Linked DNA regions of Homo sapiens: region 1 is linked to region 2. The links are contacts of gene promoters, found by promoter capture Hi-C in human tissues and cell types (Jung and others, 2019). All regions are on one chromosome and are shown on one strand. The core of a region is centred on a gene start or on the middle of the fragment in contact, and the rest is flanking DNA. Distances in the headings are between cores, read along the strand shown. Region 1 overlaps ARHGEF4 (Rho guanine nucleotide exchange factor 4). Region 2 holds the start of GPR148 (G protein-coupled receptor 148).

What was found. Contacts are between HindIII fragments. The study calls those that stand out against the background at their distance.
Region 1: a contact is called between a fragment that was not itself captured here and the fragment with the promoter of GPR148 in region 2, in 1 of the 25 tissues and cell types used here (thymus).

The regions. Positions count from the first base shown.
Region 1 is chr2:130,869,174-130,875,111 of GRCh38, forward strand. The region is part of intron 1 of ARHGEF4 (Rho guanine nucleotide exchange factor 4); the gene reads left to right. Among named protein-coding and RNA genes, the nearest start is that of ARHGEF4-AS1, 35 kb to the left of the region's middle. The HindIII fragment of the contact is 4,254 bases long and covers 171-4,424 here.
Region 2 is chr2:130,726,908-130,732,231 of GRCh38, forward strand. It overlaps GPR148 (G protein-coupled receptor 148), which reads left to right and starts at 2,163. Exons shown (of 1, transcript NM_207364.2): 1 at 2,163-3,429. The coding sequence starts at 2,245. The coding sequence ends at 3,288. RefSeq lists enhancers at 1-412, 734-1,313, 1,314-1,892 and a silencer at 796-965. The HindIII fragment of the contact is 13,856 bases long and covers 1-5,324 here.

The DNA.
Region 1 (5,938 bases), core at 1,048-3,547, 140 kb after region 2:
GAGGCTTAGAAAGATCTGTCTGGCCACAGAGAGAGTAGGAGGAGTAAGGGTGGAGGCCTGCAGAGTGGTTGGGAAGCTGAGAAGTAATCTGTGCCGGTGATGGAAGGTACAGCAGAGGCAGTGGTGTGAGGATAGGAAAGAACACTCAGGAGCTGTAACCCACAGAACTTGGAGCCGGATAGATGTGGAATGGGTGAGGGAGGAAGTCTCGCAGGGCTCCGGGTCTCTGCCTTCATCAGCTGGGTCACTGGTGGTGTCACTGACTGAAGAGGGAGTTACCCCTGAGATAAGCAGGGAATCTTGGTGAGCAGTGAGGCCCCTGAGTCTGGGAAGGCAGCTGGCAGTAGCTATTTGATTGTGCCCAGCACATAGGCAGTGCTTGAATCTGTGATGGCACGAGATGACTCAGGGACTGTGTCTAGAATTCGAAGGAGTGTAGAAGCTGCTGGGGAACAATGACCTCTGCAGTTAGAGAGAAGAGAGGGTATGAAAGGAAGCTAGTGAGGCAGGGGAATGCCAGGCAGCAGTCACGGGCAGCCCGGCCAGAGCGGGGAGCTGACATATCCGCATTCAGACCAAGTCGTCCCTCAGCTAGGGAACGGCCGCCTCTTACTGAGGCCACCTGAAACCCTGAAAGGAAAAGGTGGAGAATGGTTTTGTGTTTTCGGTGTTAAGCTTGGGGGCCAGAGGCTCAGACTGGGAGCAGAGCTGTTTCTTGGACCCTCACTGTGTGCACACATGGGGTGCTGAACAAGGCCCCCTCCGTGGAACCCGGTGTGGCCAGCGGGACCCGCTGAGCTCTCAGGCTGGCTCTGGCAACAGCTGAAAAGCTCCATTATTTGCCTTTCTGGGTACATCTGCTGAAGAGGCTCAGCGTTTTGGGGCAGTGTGAACGTCTCCCTGCCACTGAGAACAATATTCGCCCTCTGCTGTCAACCCCTGCAGGGCCTCAGAGAAAGACGCTGCTGGAGGGTGGGAGGCCTGCCCACTGTTTCTTCCATGGGTATTGTTGCTTTTCCCTCTTGTGGCACCTCCTCCCCAGCCCAGGGTAGGCTGAAGGGGCAAGGACAACGCTGAACAGACGAGATGGGACCTAGCCCCCGGGAGCAGGGTAGGCCCTTTGGTAGGACTGGATGTCACGAGTGGGATGTGTTTCAGATGGAGCAACGGGCATGCTGAGATGGAAAAGCAGGAATGGGCATGAAGTGTACAGGGGCAGGGCTGGGGATGGCTCAGCTGAGGGGAGCCCTCCAGGGTCCCTAGCTGCCAGGACACTGCCCAGGAGAGGGGGCAGGAAGGGGCCCTCAGCCCTGTTCCTTCCCTTTGAGGCTTTGTGTTTGTGCGGCCCTCATTTTCCTGCACCCAATCTCATATGACCTTCTCAGAACCATGCACCTTGAAGTGAGTGAGGGTCAAAGAATGAAACAACTGCCCCAGTTACCAACAGTCAGGGATGAAGCCAGGGTGGAAACCAAGGTCTTCCATCCCTGGGGAGGGGAAGGGAACTCACTTTGGGGGTGCTCCTTATGTGCCAGGTATCTAATTTCTTACAAGGCTATGGTCAAGATGAGCCAGAGTAACCTGGAAGCAGCAGACGGTCACCCAGCGAGACATGGGGGTTGGCGGTGGTGGCAGAGAAGGGAAAGCAGGGAAGGCTTCCCAGGGGAGCTCGAAGCTGGCTGACTCTTGGCTAGGTGCAGGGTAGGGTGGGGCAGGTGTTCCAGGTCTCCTGCCTCCTCAGCTCTCCTAGATCTAAGTGCTGTCAGCCCAGGAACTGAGGTTTGCGGAGGAAGTGGCTGGTGCTAGGTAAGCCGTGGTGAACATCAGAGTGTGCTCAGGGGCTCCCTAGAAGCATATCTGCAGTCATGGGTGTCAGTGGGAGACGAGCTCCAACAGTCACTTCACTTTACCCATGAAAGCCTCTGGGGGGCATAAAGGGGCCCCGCCTGTGGGTTGCTGAGCTGGGGCACAGGTCAGCTCTCTCAACCCCACAATGGCCTGGATAAAGGATTTTTCTAAACCTCAGCTTCCTACACCTAGAGCTTTAAAATGCTCATTAATATACAAAGGCTTTCAAAGAGGCTGGGCGCAGTGGCTCACACCTGTAATCCCAGCACTTTGGGAGGCCGAGGTGGGCGGATCACCTGAGGTCAGAAGTTCGAGACTAGCCTGGCCAACATGGTGAAACCTTGTCTCTACTAAAAATACAAAAATTAGCCAGGCTTGGTGGTGGGCACCTGTGATCCCAGCTACTCGGGAGACTGAGGCAGGAGAATTGCTTGAACCCGGGAGGCAGAGGTTGCGGTAAGCCAAGATCGAGTCATTGTACTCCAGCCTGGGCGGCAAGAGCAAAACTCCGTCTCAAAAAAATATATATATATACATATATATATACACATATATACATACATATATATATGCATACACACACACACACACCTGCTTTCAGAAATTTTTAGGAAAAAAAATCTAACTTTATAGCATTTCCAAAATCATCTGATCACTCATCCCTTCATTTGTTGTCTTCCAAATCCTGTGGACACTATTTCAGGGGATGCTTCATGCCAGCAACCTGGGAAACTCAGGTCCACTCTCCCCTACACTGGAGACCTTTTGAACCCTCATTAATGAAAAATCAAGCACTTTTTCTTAACTCTTGCCAGTGGAGAAGGAAAAATGGAGAGACCTTATCTCCCTGGTTTTGAGGTTAATTCTTCCCCCCAAATAAAGATCCATGGAACAGGGTGGGTGTGGGAGCCTATCCAGCGTCATGATGATCTTGGCACATGCCTATCAGCTGTGAGCCTCAGGTGAGCACTCAGCCTAGCAGAACACCAGCTGTGCATCTGCAAAATGGAGCAACAGGGCCTCGCAGCACCGCAGCGCGGTTCAGGTCAGGGCAGGCAATCGGCCCAGCTGGGAATAAACTGTTAGCTCCTTCCTCTGCTGGAAATAGGCTTAGCCTTATAAAAATGAGTTAAAGCCTATTTCTAGCAGTTGGCCATGTTGATAAAGTGGATTAGCTCTTCCTCTGCTTGTTATCAAAACACAGGGCTCAAGCTTCAGGGAGCTGGCAGAGAGGGTGTGTGAGCGACATGGGCCCAGCATCAGGCGTGACCCTATCCTGATCCCTGTTGCAAAGCCTACCCTGACTCCAGAAGGCACCAGGAGCATGCGACTGACGGCAGATGAACGTTTGAAATTGAGGCTGTCTTGGGAAACCCAGCCCTGGTGGCTCCTGCAGCCCCAGGTACTTCTATCCAAAGCAGGGTCCCCCCAGGCCCCCTGCCCAGGCCCCTTTCCGGGACTTAGGTTCCTGCCATCCCCAGCCCTCCTCCGCACCTCCTCGTTTGAGCTGAATCACGCCAATTGTGTGTCCCGTCCCCGTGACCACTGGGTACAATCGCAAATCTTACTGCTGGCAAGTTCTTTTGTCTGACTTCTGCAAGTCTTTTAATGGGGTTTCTAAAGAAGTCACTGGAAAGGAGACTGTTTTCCTGCCAGATCCTCAGCAGAGGGAAGAATTTCCCTGTTGTTTCGGGATTATGGGTTGCAAGGGAGGCGATACAAAGGAGCAGAGGAGAAGAATGGGCCAGGACACAAACTCCGTATGTGTCAGCTGGGAGCAGCAGCACCTCACGGGGCCTTGGTGCACTTTGGGGGCTGAGGTCAGGTCTCGTGGTCACCTGCCTGTGTGGAGCCAGCCCTGAGCCCTGCCTGCAGCTGGCCCAGCACACACATGCCTGCACCATCCACATGCCTACCTGGGGCATGCATGCAGAGGCTTGGGGTGTTCGCCTGTGGAGCACACCTTTAGAGGCTGCAAGGCAGCAAGCCTCTGAGTCAGGCAGCCAAGGCAGGGCTGTGGGCACTCGTGCTCTTTTGCTGCCTTCCCCAGTCTCCAGGGGAATGGGCACACACAGGCTCTGGAGCCAAAGTGCCCGGATTCAAACCCTCCACTCCCTAGCTGGTGTGACTGGGAAAAGCCACTTGATCTGTCTGTGCTGTGTCTTCATTATCTGTCAAATGGCGATACAGTGCACACCTCATATGGTTGTCATAAGGCTGGCCTGTGGCAAAGGTTCAACAAATACTGTCATCAGCATTACTCCCATCTTATGAAGGAAGAAAATAGGCCGGGCACGGTGGCCACGCCTGTAATCCTAGCACTTTGGGAGGCCGAGGCGGGTGGATCACCTGAGATCAGGAGTTCGAGACCAGCCTGGCCAACGTGGTGAAACCTCTTCTCTACTAAAAATACAAAAATTAGCTGGGCATGGTGGCGGGCACCTGTAATCCTAGCTACTCGGGAGGCTGAGGCAGGAGAATCACTTGAACCTGGGAAGCAGGTTGCAGTGAGCCGAGACTGCGCCATTGCACTCCAGCCTGGGAGACAGGAGTGAAACTCCATCTCAAAAAAAAAAAAAAGGAAAAGAAAAGAAGACCCACTTTTTACTTAGCTAACTAATGACAGAACTAAGTAGGACATCTGTCTAATTCCAGTTAGTGGCTAGCGGCTTCTTTTTAGAATACCAAGCTGCCTTTCAGAAGCCAGATCGAGTGATCCTGGGGCTAGGTGGGTGATGAACACTTTGGAGGGGTGGGGTTTGGTGCAGGCCATACTGTCTTGGATTTCCAGGTACCCCTAAGTTCCCTGGTCCATCTGATTTCATCCAGGCCGCTTTGCAGGAAGTGACAGCTGTTTGGGGTTCCTTGGTGCCCCCTGCCGGATAGATTGCATCTAACGTTTTCCTGGGTTGATGAAAGCCCTGGGTGCTTTGAAACTGGCTGGCTCTCCAGATTCAGGAGGGATGTGGATGTTTTTGTCTGCCTCTGCCTTAGCCATCCTGGGCCCAGCAGCTCAATTCCTCAATTCAACCCTGGTTTTTCTTTCACTAATTAAAAGAAGTAGCTTTTAACTCTCCTTTTTACGAGCAGCTTACCAACTGTTCTGCCCCAGCGACTCACCCCACGCTGGGGGATCTCCCTATCAGCAAAAACGGAGGCTCAGTCCCTGCAGATGTTTGGTGGTTCTGTTGCATTCTGTTCTTTCTCCTTTTCAGTAGACAAACTACAAGGCGGCTGTACCAACAGTTTATCCTCTTGTTTCTTCCTCATGTGTTGGGAAAACAGGTCCCAGGAATCCTGGTGGAAGCACATTGGTGGGGAGCTGAGGAGCCTTCTGTTCCCAAGTCATTCTGCTGACATGGCCAGGCCCTCCTCAGGCCCACAAGGTGTGTGCTCAGCACGCCTCTGTCTGTGTGGCCTTGGAGGGATCATGTCTCTGCACCTTTTCTTTCTTACATGACAAATAAACAAAGTCTGCTCAAAATTCCTTAAAGGGTACTCTGAGGACTCAGCTAGTGAGTGGGAATACGACTGCTTTCATAATTAAGTTAAACTTTTTAAGGAGATAATTATAGACTCACATGCAGTTCTAAGAAATAATACAGAGATCTATCATGTACCCTTTACTGTTCCCCCCACTGGTAGCATCTTGCAAAATTTAGCACAGTCTCACACCCAGAATCTTGACAGGGACAGCCACATGGAACATTGCCATCACCACAGCATTGGTCATGCCCTTCTTTCATAACCACTGCCACCTCCCCATCTTTCACCGCTGACAACCCACAGATCTGCGGTCCATTTCTATAATTTTTTCATTTCAAGAATAGTATAAAATGGATCCATATAGTATGTACCATTTTGGGTTTGAATTTCTTTGCTCAGCATTATTCTCTAGAGACTCATCCAAGTTGTGCATATGGCATGTAATTGCCATAAGCTTTGGTTGTTTTCCAGGTCTCCTACAAAGTTGGTTCTGGCAACTCTGGTTCGTTTTTTGATGTTTCTGTTGGAGTTCTCTAGTCTGCTATTTTGCTGACATCATTCCTCTGGAAGATGACTTTAAAATTAGAAAATATTCTGATTTTCC
Region 2 (5,324 bases), core at 913-3,412:
GACCCCGCCTCCCTGTCCCCGCGCCCTGGGCTGCACTCCCTAGGGCCCCGGACTGCATTTTCCCAGGAGGGCAGCCTGGATAGGGAACCTCGGCAAGTGAGACCAAACTGATGTTCCCTTAGGGGCAGCACCCGCTCGGTGCTCTGAGATTGTTGTATGGGCTATTTAATTCCTAAGATGATTCTCAGCAGGAGGCAGGCTCTGTATCATCCCAGCGGCTTTTTCACCTTGGGAGTTTCGCGCTTTCCGATTCCATGAAGTTGCTGCTTGTCACCCCGTCACCGGCTATAAGGATTTAGCTCACAACCACATTTTTACTGAGGGATTGTCATTTAACGAGTTTCCCTCTCCCAGGGAATCTGCATTCTAAGACCCCAAAGGCCGGCGAGGGTCGTTGTGCTGGGCTGGACAGCAGAGAGAGGCTCGGCCTTGGCCCTCAGCCCTGCAGCACACAGGGCACCCGCGCAGAGAGCGTGGCCTGCGAATGGCTCTGCTGCCTCTCCCGGCCTGGGGCCGATTAGACCGGTCAGAGCATCTGTAAAGTACAAGGGGCCCCTAGGGAGTGCAGGCCAGGGCAGCTGGGGCAGGGAGGCGGGGTCCGCCCCATGGCATCGCGGTTTCTCTGGAAGGGGTGATGGGCTTTCTCAGAACCACCTTTAGTTTCTGTACCGTAATCGGCCAAAAAGGCGCAGGCGCTGCTGCTCCTGGCAGCTGCGTAACAGGCTCTCAGAGGAGGACGCGGTTCCGGGCTGCGGCGGGCGTGGTCCGGGGCTGTTCTGGGCGTGGTCTTTGGCTGTGATGGGCGTGGCCTTGGGCTATGGAGGGCGTGGTCCCAGGGCTGCGATGATGGTGGTCCGGGGCTGTGGTGGGCGTGGCCCCGGGCTGCGGCGGGCGTGGTCCCCGGGCTGCGGCGGACGTGGTCAGGGGCGGTTCTGGGCGTGGTCCCTGGGCTGCGGTGGACGTGGTCTCGGGCTGTGACGAGCATGGTCCCTGGGCAGCAGTGGACGTGGTCTCACACCCAGAGTCTGAAATTTCTGCCTCTTCCTGGCCCTAAAAATATCCTGCCTGTTCCCACGCGGCTCCTGCCTTCTGGAGCAGTCTGCCAGGCCGGCGGTGGGTGTTGGGCAGGGGTCTCAGGCTGCCAGCAGCCAAGTGCAGCCCGTTCTGCAGTGATGACAGGGATCTGTGGGCAGAGGGGACCGAGCCTCGGAGGATGCTGTAGGTGGGAGAGCTAACATTGACTCAGCATTTACTTCAGGCTATGCACTGTGCTGAGTCCCTTACCTCTGGGCTTCCGCAACGTTTCCCTGAGGTCAGTGTGGTTGGCATTCGTGTTTCACAGATAAGGAAACTGGAACAAAGCTTTTCAAGGCCACGCAGCCAACACCTCGAGAGAGCGGGAGAGCTTGTTCACTTGAACTGGATCCCCAAACACCAACAGCCACCCTGGCCACTGGCTCTGACTGAGCTCACCCCACCCCCGACAAGCCAGGTGCCTGGGGAACCTGCCTTCCATTCCTCCCCACTAGCTCCTATGAGGTCTCTGCCTGCCAGGCCTCCTCCTCCCCAGAGGAAGGGACGTTTCTACCACACAGCGACCCCACAAGTCAGCTGAGATTTTGGGGGCACCGAATACTCACATGGAGCCCTGAGTGGAAGGGGTGTAGGAGTCACACTCACACGCATGCACAGGGTCACCCTGAGCTGGAGACCATACCCAAGGCTCTGTGAGGAAATGTGAGTGCGCCCAGGCCCCTCCAGCCTGGTCCAATTTGCTGAGCCTCTAGCTCGACAGAGGTCAGACCAGGTCTACAGCCCAGCGATCCTAGTTCCAGACAGCTGCTCCTTCCTTTCTAGGAGGGCAGCCCGGAATATAATCCAGTGTGGTGAGAATCCATTGCACACTCCCTGTGAGCCAAGCAGACAGGTTTGGGGGCCACTGAGATAGGGGACACTTCTGGAGGGGTCAGTGACTGCAAAATGGTGGCAGTGGGATGATCTGTTATGTCTACCCACGCACATGCAGCTGCACAGTTGCAGAGATGTGAATGCAGGAAGCCAGGTGTGAGTCTGAATTCACATTGGTTTTTTTATCTTTATTAAGCAGTCATTCCTAAGGCCTGCCCGAGCCTGGCATCTCTACAGAGGAGTGGTGCCATCAGGACCCCTGTGGGGCAGATCAACACTCAAGGCAGGTGCAGAATCAACAACCTGTGACAAAGCCAGCCATCCCTGCCAGGAAGCATGGGGGATGAGCTGGCACCTTGCCCTGTGGGCACTACAGCTTGGCCGGCCCTGATCCAGCTCATCAGCAAGACACCCTGCATGCCCCAAGCAGCCAGCAACACTTCCTTGGGCCTGGGGGACCTCAGGGTGCCCAGCTCCATGCTGTACTGGCTTTTCCTTCCCTCAAGCCTGCTGGCTGCAGCCACACTGGCTGTCAGCCCCCTGCTGCTGGTGACCATCCTGCGGAACCAACGGCTGCGACAGGAGCCCCACTACCTGCTCCCGGCTAACATCCTGCTCTCAGACCTGGCCTACATTCTCCTCCACATGCTCATCTCCTCCAGCAGCCTGGGTGGCTGGGAGCTGGGCCGCATGGCCTGTGGCATTCTCACTGATGCTGTCTTCGCCGCCTGCACCAGCACCATCCTGTCCTTCACCGCCATTGTGCTGCACACCTACCTGGCAGTCATCCATCCACTGCGCTACCTCTCCTTCATGTCCCATGGGGCTGCCTGGAAGGCAGTGGCCCTCATCTGGCTGGTGGCCTGCTGCTTCCCCACATTCCTTATTTGGCTCAGCAAGTGGCAGGATGCCCAGCTGGAGGAGCAAGGAGCTTCATACATCCTACCACCAAGCATGGGCACCCAGCCGGGATGTGGCCTCCTGGTCATTGTTACCTACACCTCCATTCTGTGCGTTCTGTTCCTCTGCACAGCTCTCATTGCCAACTGTTTCTGGAGGATCTATGCAGAGGCCAAGACTTCAGGCATCTGGGGGCAGGGCTATTCCCGGGCCAGGGGCACCCTGCTGATCCACTCAGTGCTGATCACATTGTACGTGAGCACAGGGGTGGTGTTCTCCCTGGACATGGTGCTGACCAGGTACCACCACATTGACTCTGGGACTCACACATGGCTCCTGGCAGCTAACAGTGAGGTACTCATGATGCTTCCCCGTGCCATGCTCACATACCTGTACCTGCTCCGCTACCGGCAGCTGTTGGGCATGGTCCGGGGCCACCTCCCATCCAGGAGGCACCAGGCCATCTTTACCATTTCCTAGAGTTCTTGAGTCCACAGTCTGGCAAGCTGAGGTTAAAAATCATATGTTGAATGCAGCAGTGTCCACTTATGACTAACTTCTTAGAACAGCACAATATAATAGTGGAATTGGGCCTTTCAGAAGACCTCAACTGATGATTTTCACCATTTTGACAGTTTTTAAGTAGAGAAAGCTCTCTTATGACACTGAAATCCTACTTGGAAACGGAAGCAAGTAAAGGCAATCAAGCAGGGCTCTGGTCTAAGTCAAGCCTTGATCTGCGTCCCTCCAATGGCTTGCTGCACACCCTCCCTGGCCACTGTGGATGCATCCTTGCTGACCAACACACAGAAGCCAAAATGTTGCTGACAGTGAGAACCACAGAGGTAAGCAAGCAGAGCTGCTGAGTCCTGGGACCATGAGCTCTATCTGAGCAGCCGCTCAGGATGTGGGAGGGAGGAAAGGAAGCCAACGATCCACAGCAGTGGAGAGTGTCATGGAGATACCACTATAAAGCTGGAGTGTGCAAGGGTTACACTCTCACAATAAAGGTAAATGATAACCTAACCTTACAGAAGGGGTCAGCAAGGGAGTTTGCCTGCCTTGACTTTCGTGCTGTGTAGAAGAAGAAAATTCCTCGAGAATTCTTAAGTAGAAGCCACTCTTCAGACAGTTTTAGAGCTAGGCTTCAAATTATGTTAGTGGTAAAAAGACCTCAGTCTGTGGTTGGTGTGGTTCTCCTGGACGATCTGAGCTTCACCTTAGGCTGCAGAGAATTTCCAGAGTCAAAGAACCTCAAATAATGGAGTTGCACATGGTCAAATCTCACAAAACCACATAGGGAGATAAGGCACCATGAATGAGAGCAAGAAGAAACAAGAAGACAGCAGCGTCATACCACAGCTCCTTGAATTATCAACACTGGGTTAATATAAAAATGTTCAAGATGTTTTAAGACATTAATAATGACATGAAAATATGAGCAGGGATAATACTTTTTTTTAAATAACCAAGAAAATTTGGAAAATATTTAAATAGAACTTCTTGAAACAAAAATATTAGAATTATGAGTTGAATTTAATATGGATTAAAGAGCATGTTAGACACAACTGGAAACAGACTCTGCAAATTGTGAGAGAGGTCCAGATAAATTACCTAAAATGCAGCCCAGAGGGACAAAGAGACAACCATATAAAAGAGAGATTAAGAGACATTGAGGTTGGGATGGAAAAGACTAACATACATTTAATTTGGGAACACAATACAGAAAATGTAGGAGGGGAAATATTTGAAGCGATAACAGCTGAGGATTTTTTCAGATTTGTTTAAAGATATCAAACTTCAGATCCGAGAAATCTAACCAATCATAAATAAGATAAATGACCAATAACCCACGTTGAAGCACATGATGCGAAACTGCAAACAGCTAAATACAAAGACAAGATATTTAAAGCAGGCAGAGATAAAAGACAAAAGAACATCAATTAAACTCACCTTGACTTCTCAAACAATGGAAGAGACCAGCCTGACCAACATGGTGAAACCCCGTCTCTACTAAAAATACAAAAAAAATTAGCCGGGCTTGGTGGCGGGCGCCTGTAGTCCCAGCTACTCCAGAGGCTGAGGCAGGAGAATGGCGTGAACCCGGGAGACGGAGCTTTCAGTGAGCCGCGATCACGCCACTGCACTCCAGCCTGGGCGACAGAGCAAGACTCCGTCTCAAAAAAAAAAAAAAAATAATAATTAGCCAGGCCTGGTGGCATGTGCTGTCAGCTACTTAGGAGGCTGAGGCAGGAGAATCGCTTGAACCCGGGAGGCGGAGGTTGCAGTGAGCCGAGATCACACCACTGCACTCCAGCCTGGGCGACAGAGCGAGACCCCATCTCAAAAAACAAACAAACAAACAAAAAACATGGAAGCCTTGGCAACTGGAATAATGTTGCCAATGTGCTGAGAAAATAACTGTCTTCCTAGAATTTTATATACAGAAAAACCTTTCCAGACCTTGATAGAACACAAAAGCTGAAAGACAGTATTCCTAGCAATACACATTAAGA